Regions from separate parts of the Homo sapiens genome. Here region 1 is linked to region 2. The links are contacts of gene promoters, found by promoter capture Hi-C in human tissues and cell types (Jung and others, 2019). All regions are on one chromosome and are shown on one strand. Each heading gives the region's core, a stretch centred on a gene start or on the middle of the fragment in contact. The rest is flanking DNA. Distances are from core to core; before and after follow the strand shown. Region 1 overlaps TP53RK (TP53 regulating kinase). Region 2 holds the start of CDH22 (cadherin 22).

Region 1 (3,958 bases), core at 121-2,620, 370 kb after region 2:
CGGTGCCTAGAATTAAAGGACGCAAGGGAAGACTCCTAGTTCCCCAAGAGGTTCAGGCTGCATTCATTTGTTTTCTATTGCTTTTAACAGAATACTTAAAACTGGGTAATTTATAAAGAAAAGGAGTTTATTTCTTACTGTTATGGAGGAATACAAGGTCGAGGGGGCACATCTGGTGGGGGCACAGCCTTCTTGAAGGTGGGGACTCTACAGAGACCTGAGGCGGCACATGGCATCATGTGACAAGGGGGCTGGGTGTGCTAGCTCAGGTCTCTCTTCCTCTTATAAAGCCACCAGTCCTGCTCTCATAATAACCCATTAATCTATTAGTCCACACGTGGATTAATCAATTCATGAGGGCAGAGGCCTTAGGATCCAATCACCTCTTAAAGGCCCCATCTTTCAATACTGCTAAGTTGGGCATTCAGTTTCCAACACATGAAATACGGGGAACACATTCAAACCACAGCAGGTGCAGACCCTTGTAAGAACATGGGCTCCTCCATCAGGGCTCTGGCAGTCAGTGACAGCTGGGTTAGGACTAGGGTGAAGCAAGTGAGGCACAAATTTAAGGAGGCATCCAAAAACTCAATAATCCAAAAAATATCTTAATGGGATGGTTTTAAAAATCAAATTGGCAAACTATCGCCCACGGGCCGACTGTCTGATTTGTAAATAAAGTTTTATTGGAACCAGGGTCAGGAATATGGTGGATTCTTGCAGTTAAATCAGAGATTATGCCCTGCATGCCTTCGCTAATGTAGATGTTCCCAACCCCTAAGGTAGCACGTGGTGTGGGCGTGGTCAGCTCAGCTCATCCAACAATAAGAACACAGCTTGTTTGGAGCACTCACTATGCCAGCTTTAAAGCAACTCTACTCTGGAACTACCTCTCTTGGCCCCATGGACTGGCCACAAAAGCACTTTTAAATGTTCCAGGAATGTGGGCCTGTGTCAAGTGTTGGTCGCATCTCGGTGTCATATCACATTTCCCTGGTTCTGCCATTTACTAACTGAGTGGCCTGGGGCAGGACTTAATTTCTCTGTGTCTCATTTGCTTCTTCTGTAAAATGGGTTAATGCATGGAAAGAACGTAACTCTATAAAGTCAGCTGCTGTTGTTAAAAGCATGGGTCTGAATCCCAGCTCTGTCACTTATTGTGACCCTAGGACATATTTCCTATTGCCCAGTGTTTCCTCCACCATAAAATGGAGATTATAATCCTCATCTGGTTGGGTTTAGCTGGGGATTCACACAAAACTGCTAGTGCTGTTGGCTCAGCACTGCAAAGCACCTGCAGCTCCCCGGTGGACGTCAAGGGATCTGAAAGTGCAGAGGGTTCCTTAGCCCTTTGTGAGAGGAACTAGGAAAGGAATCCACTGTTCACCTAGGAACATTTGTTAACCCTTTATTTCCCACTGTGGGCCAAGGGCTAAGTGTGCAGATGGACGATTCTCCTCCTGGGGGCATTTGTGACGTTTCTCCAGTCTCCAATATCTGCCACTCTCCCTCTTGATACTTGCAAAGATCATTACTGCTTCCTGACAGCTGCGGCTACCCCCACTGCTACTGGCCACTGATACCGGAGATAGAAATTATTTAGGCAGATATTCAGGGCAAAAGAGTCCTCGGCGGAATTTCCCTTCTAACAAAAAAGCAGCCCCAGAAATCATTTCTTTTCTAACAAAGAGCAGCCTGAAAAATCCAGCTGCAAACATAGATAAGGAAGCTGGAAGCTTGCACGGGGGAATGCTGGTAGCTGTGCCAATAGAGAAGGGCTAACTGGGGGCCAGGCATGTCTAACACGAGGCTCCATCTTCCCTTTTCTTTTACCACGTGTACAGTAATAAAGAAATGGGCAACATGGCACAGCTCAGGCAGAGAACTCGCCTGCATAATAAAAGACTGGGGTGGGGGTGCCGAGATTCATACCCTGTGCCAATGGCACACCTGGGTCCAACCAGTTTTTCACACCCTATGTAGATCAGACAGCACCTCCTCACCAGCTCATCTATAAAACTCCCTTGCATTTCACTGCAGATCCAGCAACCCATTTTTCCAGGACCCCTCTTGTAGCAGAGCGCTATTCTCTTTCTTTCAACTATTAAATTTCTGCTCTTCACCTCACTCTTTGTGGGTCCCTGTCCTTGATCTCCGTGACCATGAGACAACGAGCCTCGGGTGTTACCCCCAGACAAGCCTGCTTCTCCACCGCGTTCCCTGCCTCAGTGGCTGCCAGGTCCTGTGCCAAGCAGTTGGAGCATGCTCGCCACAGCTTCCACCCTGGCTACTGTTTTTACTGGACCAGCTGGTTTCGGTCGCCTTTTCACTTCCAGGTTTCTTGCTTCCACTCTTGCCCTCTATGGTTTTCTGCCAGCAACCAATGCAACCCTTTCAAAACAATCAGGTATCACCCTGTTAAAAACCCTGAGTCCCATTAAGAACAAAACCCAACCTTGTAACAGGGCCCTGCAGGATCCGGCCCCGCCTCTCCCATCTCATGTTCTGCTCCTCCCCCTTGCTCACTAATGCCGGCCACACCAGCCTTGCTGTCGGGGATGTTTCTTCTTCGCCAACTTCGCACGCCACAGCCTGCCTGGGATATACTCTCTTCATCTCCTGTGTTTCTGGTTTTCCTTCACATCTTCACTCATCACTGTCTGAAACTGTCTTATGTTCCCCAGGAAAGTAAGCTTCATGTTCCCCTCTATTAGATCTCCAGTGCCCGGCGCATAGTGAGTACTAGTGTATTAGTCCGTTCTCACACTGCTGATAAAGACATACCCGAGACCGGGTAATTTATAAAGGAAAAGTTTAATAACTCACAGTTCAGCATGGCTGGGGATGCCTCAGAAAACTTATAATCATGGCAGATGGGGAAACAAACACACCCTTCTCCACGTGGCAGCAGGAAGTGCCGAACAAGAGGGAAAAGCCCCTTATAAAACCATCAGATCTCGTGAGAACTCACTCGCTATCACGAGAACAGCACGGAGGTAGCCGCCCCGAGGATTAAATTACCTCCCACTGGGTCCCTCCCATGTCACGTGGGGATTACGGGAACAATTCAAGATGAGATTTGGATGGGGACACAGCCAAACCCTATCAACTAGGGATTTGTTGACTTAATGCACACGAGCCAACCATACCCCAACAAAGCAGGTACTAGCCTTATAGTACACGTGAGGAAACTGAGGAATGAGGCATCTCATTCATGTTGGGAATATTAATTGAAAAACCTGTCAGCTCCTGTGGCCCTTGGAGTTCCTTGAAAATAATGTTATACGCCAATACTTATTATAGTACTGTAAAGATGCACCATATCCCATATCTCATTTGTCAGTGGAAAGAACACAGATTTGGAGCCAGGTAAAAGTACCTCTTGCTACCTGTGACGTCTTGGACAAGTTCCCACCTTTTGGGGCCAGTTTCTCCATCTATAAAATGGGGATAATGCCTAACTTAAGAGTTATTTTAGATCCAATATAAAAATTCCCAGCCCAATGCCTGGCATGCAGTAAGCAGGCAATTATATTATTTTTCCTCTCTACTAGTCACAACTACCCAGGAAGGGAAGTTTTCACTCATTCCTGGCCATCCGCCCCATGCTGGGCACTTGGGGCATGCTGACTGTGGTGAATGAAACAGACAGGGTACTGGTCCTACTATTATAGAATGTTTGCTTCATAAGAACAGGCACTGACTGTATCATCTCTGAACACAATGGAATGAAGCTGGCAATAACAAAAGAAAAATTGGAACATTTACAAATGTGTGGAAATTAACAGATTTCTAAACAATCAAGGGGTCAAAGAAGAAATCACAAGGGAAATTAGAAAATACTTTGAGATGAATGAAAACAAAAACACAAAATACCAAAACTGAGAGTGTGTGATGACAACAGTGTGCAGAGGGAAATTCATAGCTGCAAATGTCCATATTAAGAAACAAGACAGTA
Region 2 (3,746 bases), core at 686-3,185:
TAAATGTTGGCAATGCCCTTCCCTTCCAGGAGGAATGGAAGAGGAGTGTCCCAGACACTGGGACAAGGAGGGAAATAAGGGTGAAGTAGAGAAATGGCTGGGGCAGGGAACAGTTGAGTGCTACAGAAAAACTGAGGCAGACAGGATAGAAGATGGGTCGGGGTTGGGGGGGACGAGGAAATGGTCATTGGTGGGCAAAGACCAAAGGATGTCACTATGGGTGTAGAGGCCAAGTTTCAACAAGGGCTGTAGACTAGGGGCAACTGAGGGGGACGGAGTGGGCACTGATGGACACATATACGGGATACAAATGAAGGACAGAGAGTCGCGGTGGTTAGGGAGGAGCCTTTGGGCCCTAGGGCAGTGGTGATGCTGATATAGGGTATTGGCGCTGACCAGTGGGAGAAGAGGATGAGATCCTGAACCTGGGTGGAGAGGGAGAGAGAGCTGGCAACAGCCAAAGCCCTCAAATGAGCCGCTGCCTGTGCTGGGGGCACCTCGGCCAGCCCCAGAAACCTGGGGAGTGCTGGAATCAGCCCCACGGAAAAAGAAGCTGGCATGCGCAACCCTGGCGACGCCCGAAGGGTTTGGAGAGAAGAGGTTCCAAGGAGCGAGCACCTCGGAAGACCTGAGCAGCTTCAAACAGCAGCTTCTCTGCCCGCCACAAGGGGGTGCCCTGCACCTCGGGGAGACCTCGGGGGATCCTGGATCAGCCCTACCCTCTGCAGCCCCGCCTGGGACAGGGCCCGACGTTGCCAGAGAAGAGGCAGCGGGGAGGCGCGAGCGAGACGGGTCCACACTGTGCCCACCCAGGGCTGCCCGGCACCCCGCGCGCCCACGCAGTCCACTCTTCACAGTAAACGCCGCGGCCCCCGAGGGTTAGCCCTAAGTGGCGCTCTCTTTGGACGTTAGGCTGTCGGGGGCCCCGTCCTTCTTCCCCAGCGGGGACGGTGTCTCCGGAGTCGGGTCCTAAGGAAGAGAGCAGCGCTGGCTCTCGCTCACCGCCAGCCCGCCCGACGGCCATAGGGCAGGGGGGGTCGCGCCGGTGGGGCCGGCAGGGGTCCCTGTGGGCCGCCTCCCCGGCTCAGAGGGGACCAGAACCGTGCGTGTCGCCGCGGCTGGAGTCAGCCTCCGGGTGTCCCCGGACGCGGCACGACCTCGCACACACACACCGCGCGCACACGCTCGCGCCGTGCGGTATTTTCCCGGCCCCGGACCCCGCCTCTGGGAGGGGCCGGGGAGCCGAGCCCCGCTAGCAGGGTTGGGGGACCGGGAACGCCTGGGTCCCAGCCCTCGCGTCAGGGCTGTGCGCCACCTTCCCAGCCCCTTTTGGCGCGCCGGCTCGGCCCCTGGCGCTGCCACCCCTCGGCCCGCGGGGGTCCCGGAGGCTCCCGGGCGCGCGGCGGACGAGGTTGTGGGGACGGGTGGGAGCTGCGGGCTTCGGGCCGAGAGGCGGCTCGGCTCCGCGCCGGGGAAAGTTTGGACGTGGGAAACTCCCTCCCCGCCCTCCCGGCCGAGAGGAGGGGGCGCGCAGGGCCGGGCGCAGGCACCCCGGCTCCTCCTGCGGCTGGAGGCTCGCCCCCCGCGCCGCCTGCCCGGCCGCTCCCGCCGGCCAGGGGGCTCCCTCCCTGCCGGGCAGCCTCCCCTCGGCGGCGATCCGGCCGCTCCTCCCGCGGCACCCCGCGCTCTTACCTCGGGGAGCGGCCCGGGGCTCCCCCTAGTCCTGCCGCCTCGGGACGCTGCGTGGGGCGGGAGCCCCGGCGCGGGCAGCGGGCGAGTCCGGAGCCCCGCGGCCGCCCGCAGGAGCCGGAGGGAGAGCGGGAGCGAGAGGGGGAGCCGCGGCGGCGTGTGCGCGCGTGTGTGTGAGCGAGAGAGCGAGAGAGCGAGAGAGCGAGGGAGTGAGCGAGCGAGCGGGAGCGAGGGAGTGTGCGTGTCTGACTGGGGGGAAGTGTGCAAGGGACGGATCCCTTCCTTCCTCCCGCAGCCTCTGGTGGAGACTCGGAGAATGCAGGGCCCGCCGGGCAGGAGCCGCGCAGCGCCAAGCCGCAGGCGGCCGCCGGCCCGGACCCCCGCAGCCGGGGAACCCCAGCCCCCGCCCCCCGGATCGCGCCCCTCCTACACCAGGAGGGGACAGCCTTTCCCTCTCTCGGGCGGCCCAGTCCCAGGAAACCCCCCAGGGGACAGTGCCCCTCCCTCCTCCAACCCCAGATCCGCGCGAAGGGAGCGCCCCCAGGAGGGGGACCATCTACCTCCTCGCCTGGCAGCTCCCCAGGTGGCCGCAGTTTGAGACCAGAGCCTATTTCCCCACCTGATTTTACTGCGAATAGGGCTTCCCATTTCCGCCCCCTGACTACTGCGGGAGGCCGCCTTCAGAGGAGCAGGGGCGCAGGCCAGGGTAGGAGCAGGCTTCTCGAACAGTGGCCGCCCCGGCTTGCTGCCCAGAAAGGCACCTTGCACAGACCAGATCTGCCAGTTCAGAAACAGTCACTGTGCATTGAGGTGGACACCGACCAGGTGCCCAGGGCTGAGTCTCCAGGCAGGTGGGAGGTCGGGTGTCCCCGGGAGAGAAACTTGTGGGCTTTTCCTCTGGAGAGTCCCGCTGGACATCCTTGCAACCAACAAAGTAAGCAGGCAAAACAAGACACCTCCATCCTTAACTTGGTGCCACCTTGACCTGGAGAAGTCTCCCAATAAAATCTTCCCACTGCCCAGAAACTCCTTGCTGGTTGGGTTTTCCGTTCTTTTAAAAATCCGGCTGGTCTGCTCCCTGATGTTTTTTCCACCTGGCCCTGTTTCTTTCTCCTGGCTGCCTGGCTCTCCTTACTACTTCATCTCTCTGGGATGAGGCCTAATGGAGGAGACCCTCCCACCCCACTCCTGAGTTCCCAATATGAGGTCGTTGATGGTAGGATAGGACCAGTGACTCCCATAGACCCACCCTTTGTCTTGGGTTGTAGGTCCCCTTAGGAGTTGCCCGCCCCCCTATTCCCCATGGCTTCCAGATAGGTGAGTGAAGGATAACAGGAGACTGGACAGCTGCAGACCTCTGTCCCGCCAAGCTGCCAATGACCAGCCATTTAATCACCCACAAGCAGCTGCTGAAGTTCATGGCAAAGAGGGGGCAGGGCCCTCCAGGACCCCCAGCTCTACCTCGCCCCTATCCTTCTCTCCTCCTCGCCTCCTTCCCCAATTTCCATCTCCATCTCCACACCCTAGTCCGTCTTGCTGATGATTGGAATCACCTCTCCTGCTGGCTGCCCCTCTGGCCCCTCCTACTAAACTCCATCATTCATTTATTTATTTTGAGATGTATTCTCCACTGTGCCAGTCTGTTCCCTCCCCTACGTCCTTCTCTTGGTTTATTTCCCTTCATTGATCTCTTCCAGCCTTGCCTTTCTATCGCCTTCCTTTTCTCCATCTCTCTCTTCCCCTCTCCTCTCTATTCTTAGCCTCCACTCTTTCATGCTTTCAGAGACCAGAGGCCAGCCTTCCAGGTGCATCTCTTCACTTTTGGTTCTCTCCTCCCGCTCTGACTCACTTTTGCTGTTTGCTCCAGTTCCCATTCCTTCTTTGCCTCTTCCTCCAGGCTCTGGTGTGTGCTGTTCATCTCTGGAGTCAGACCTACTTAGTTGTCCACAGGTTGTTTTGGTCTGGGACACTGTTGCTGTCACATCTGCATGCACACAGTAGGTGCTCAATAAATGTTATTGAATGAACTGTTGTCACATCTTTCTCTTTTGCTCTGG

What was found. The method cuts DNA at HindIII sites, captures the fragments that hold promoters and counts their contacts. A contact is called where the count stands out against the background at its distance.
Region 1: a contact is called between a fragment that was not itself captured here and the fragment with the promoter of CDH22 in region 2, in 2 of the 25 tissues and cell types used here (dorsolateral prefrontal cortex and spleen).

What each region holds. Positions count from the first base shown.
Region 1 is chr20:46,681,570-46,685,527 of GRCh38, forward strand. TP53RK (TP53 regulating kinase) reads right to left here. Exons shown (of 2, transcript NM_033550.4): 2 at 2,796-3,958. It also overlaps a transcript of SLC13A3 not described here. Among named protein-coding and RNA genes, the nearest start is that of TP53RK-DT, 5.8 kb to the right of the region's middle. RefSeq lists an enhancer at 1,731-2,242. The HindIII fragment of the contact is 7,307 bases long and covers 1-3,958 here.
Region 2 is chr20:46,306,563-46,310,308 of GRCh38, forward strand. It overlaps CDH22 (cadherin 22), which reads right to left and starts at 1,936. Exons shown (of 12, transcript NM_021248.3): 1 at 1,693-1,936. The HindIII fragment of the contact is 29,361 bases long and covers 1-3,746 here.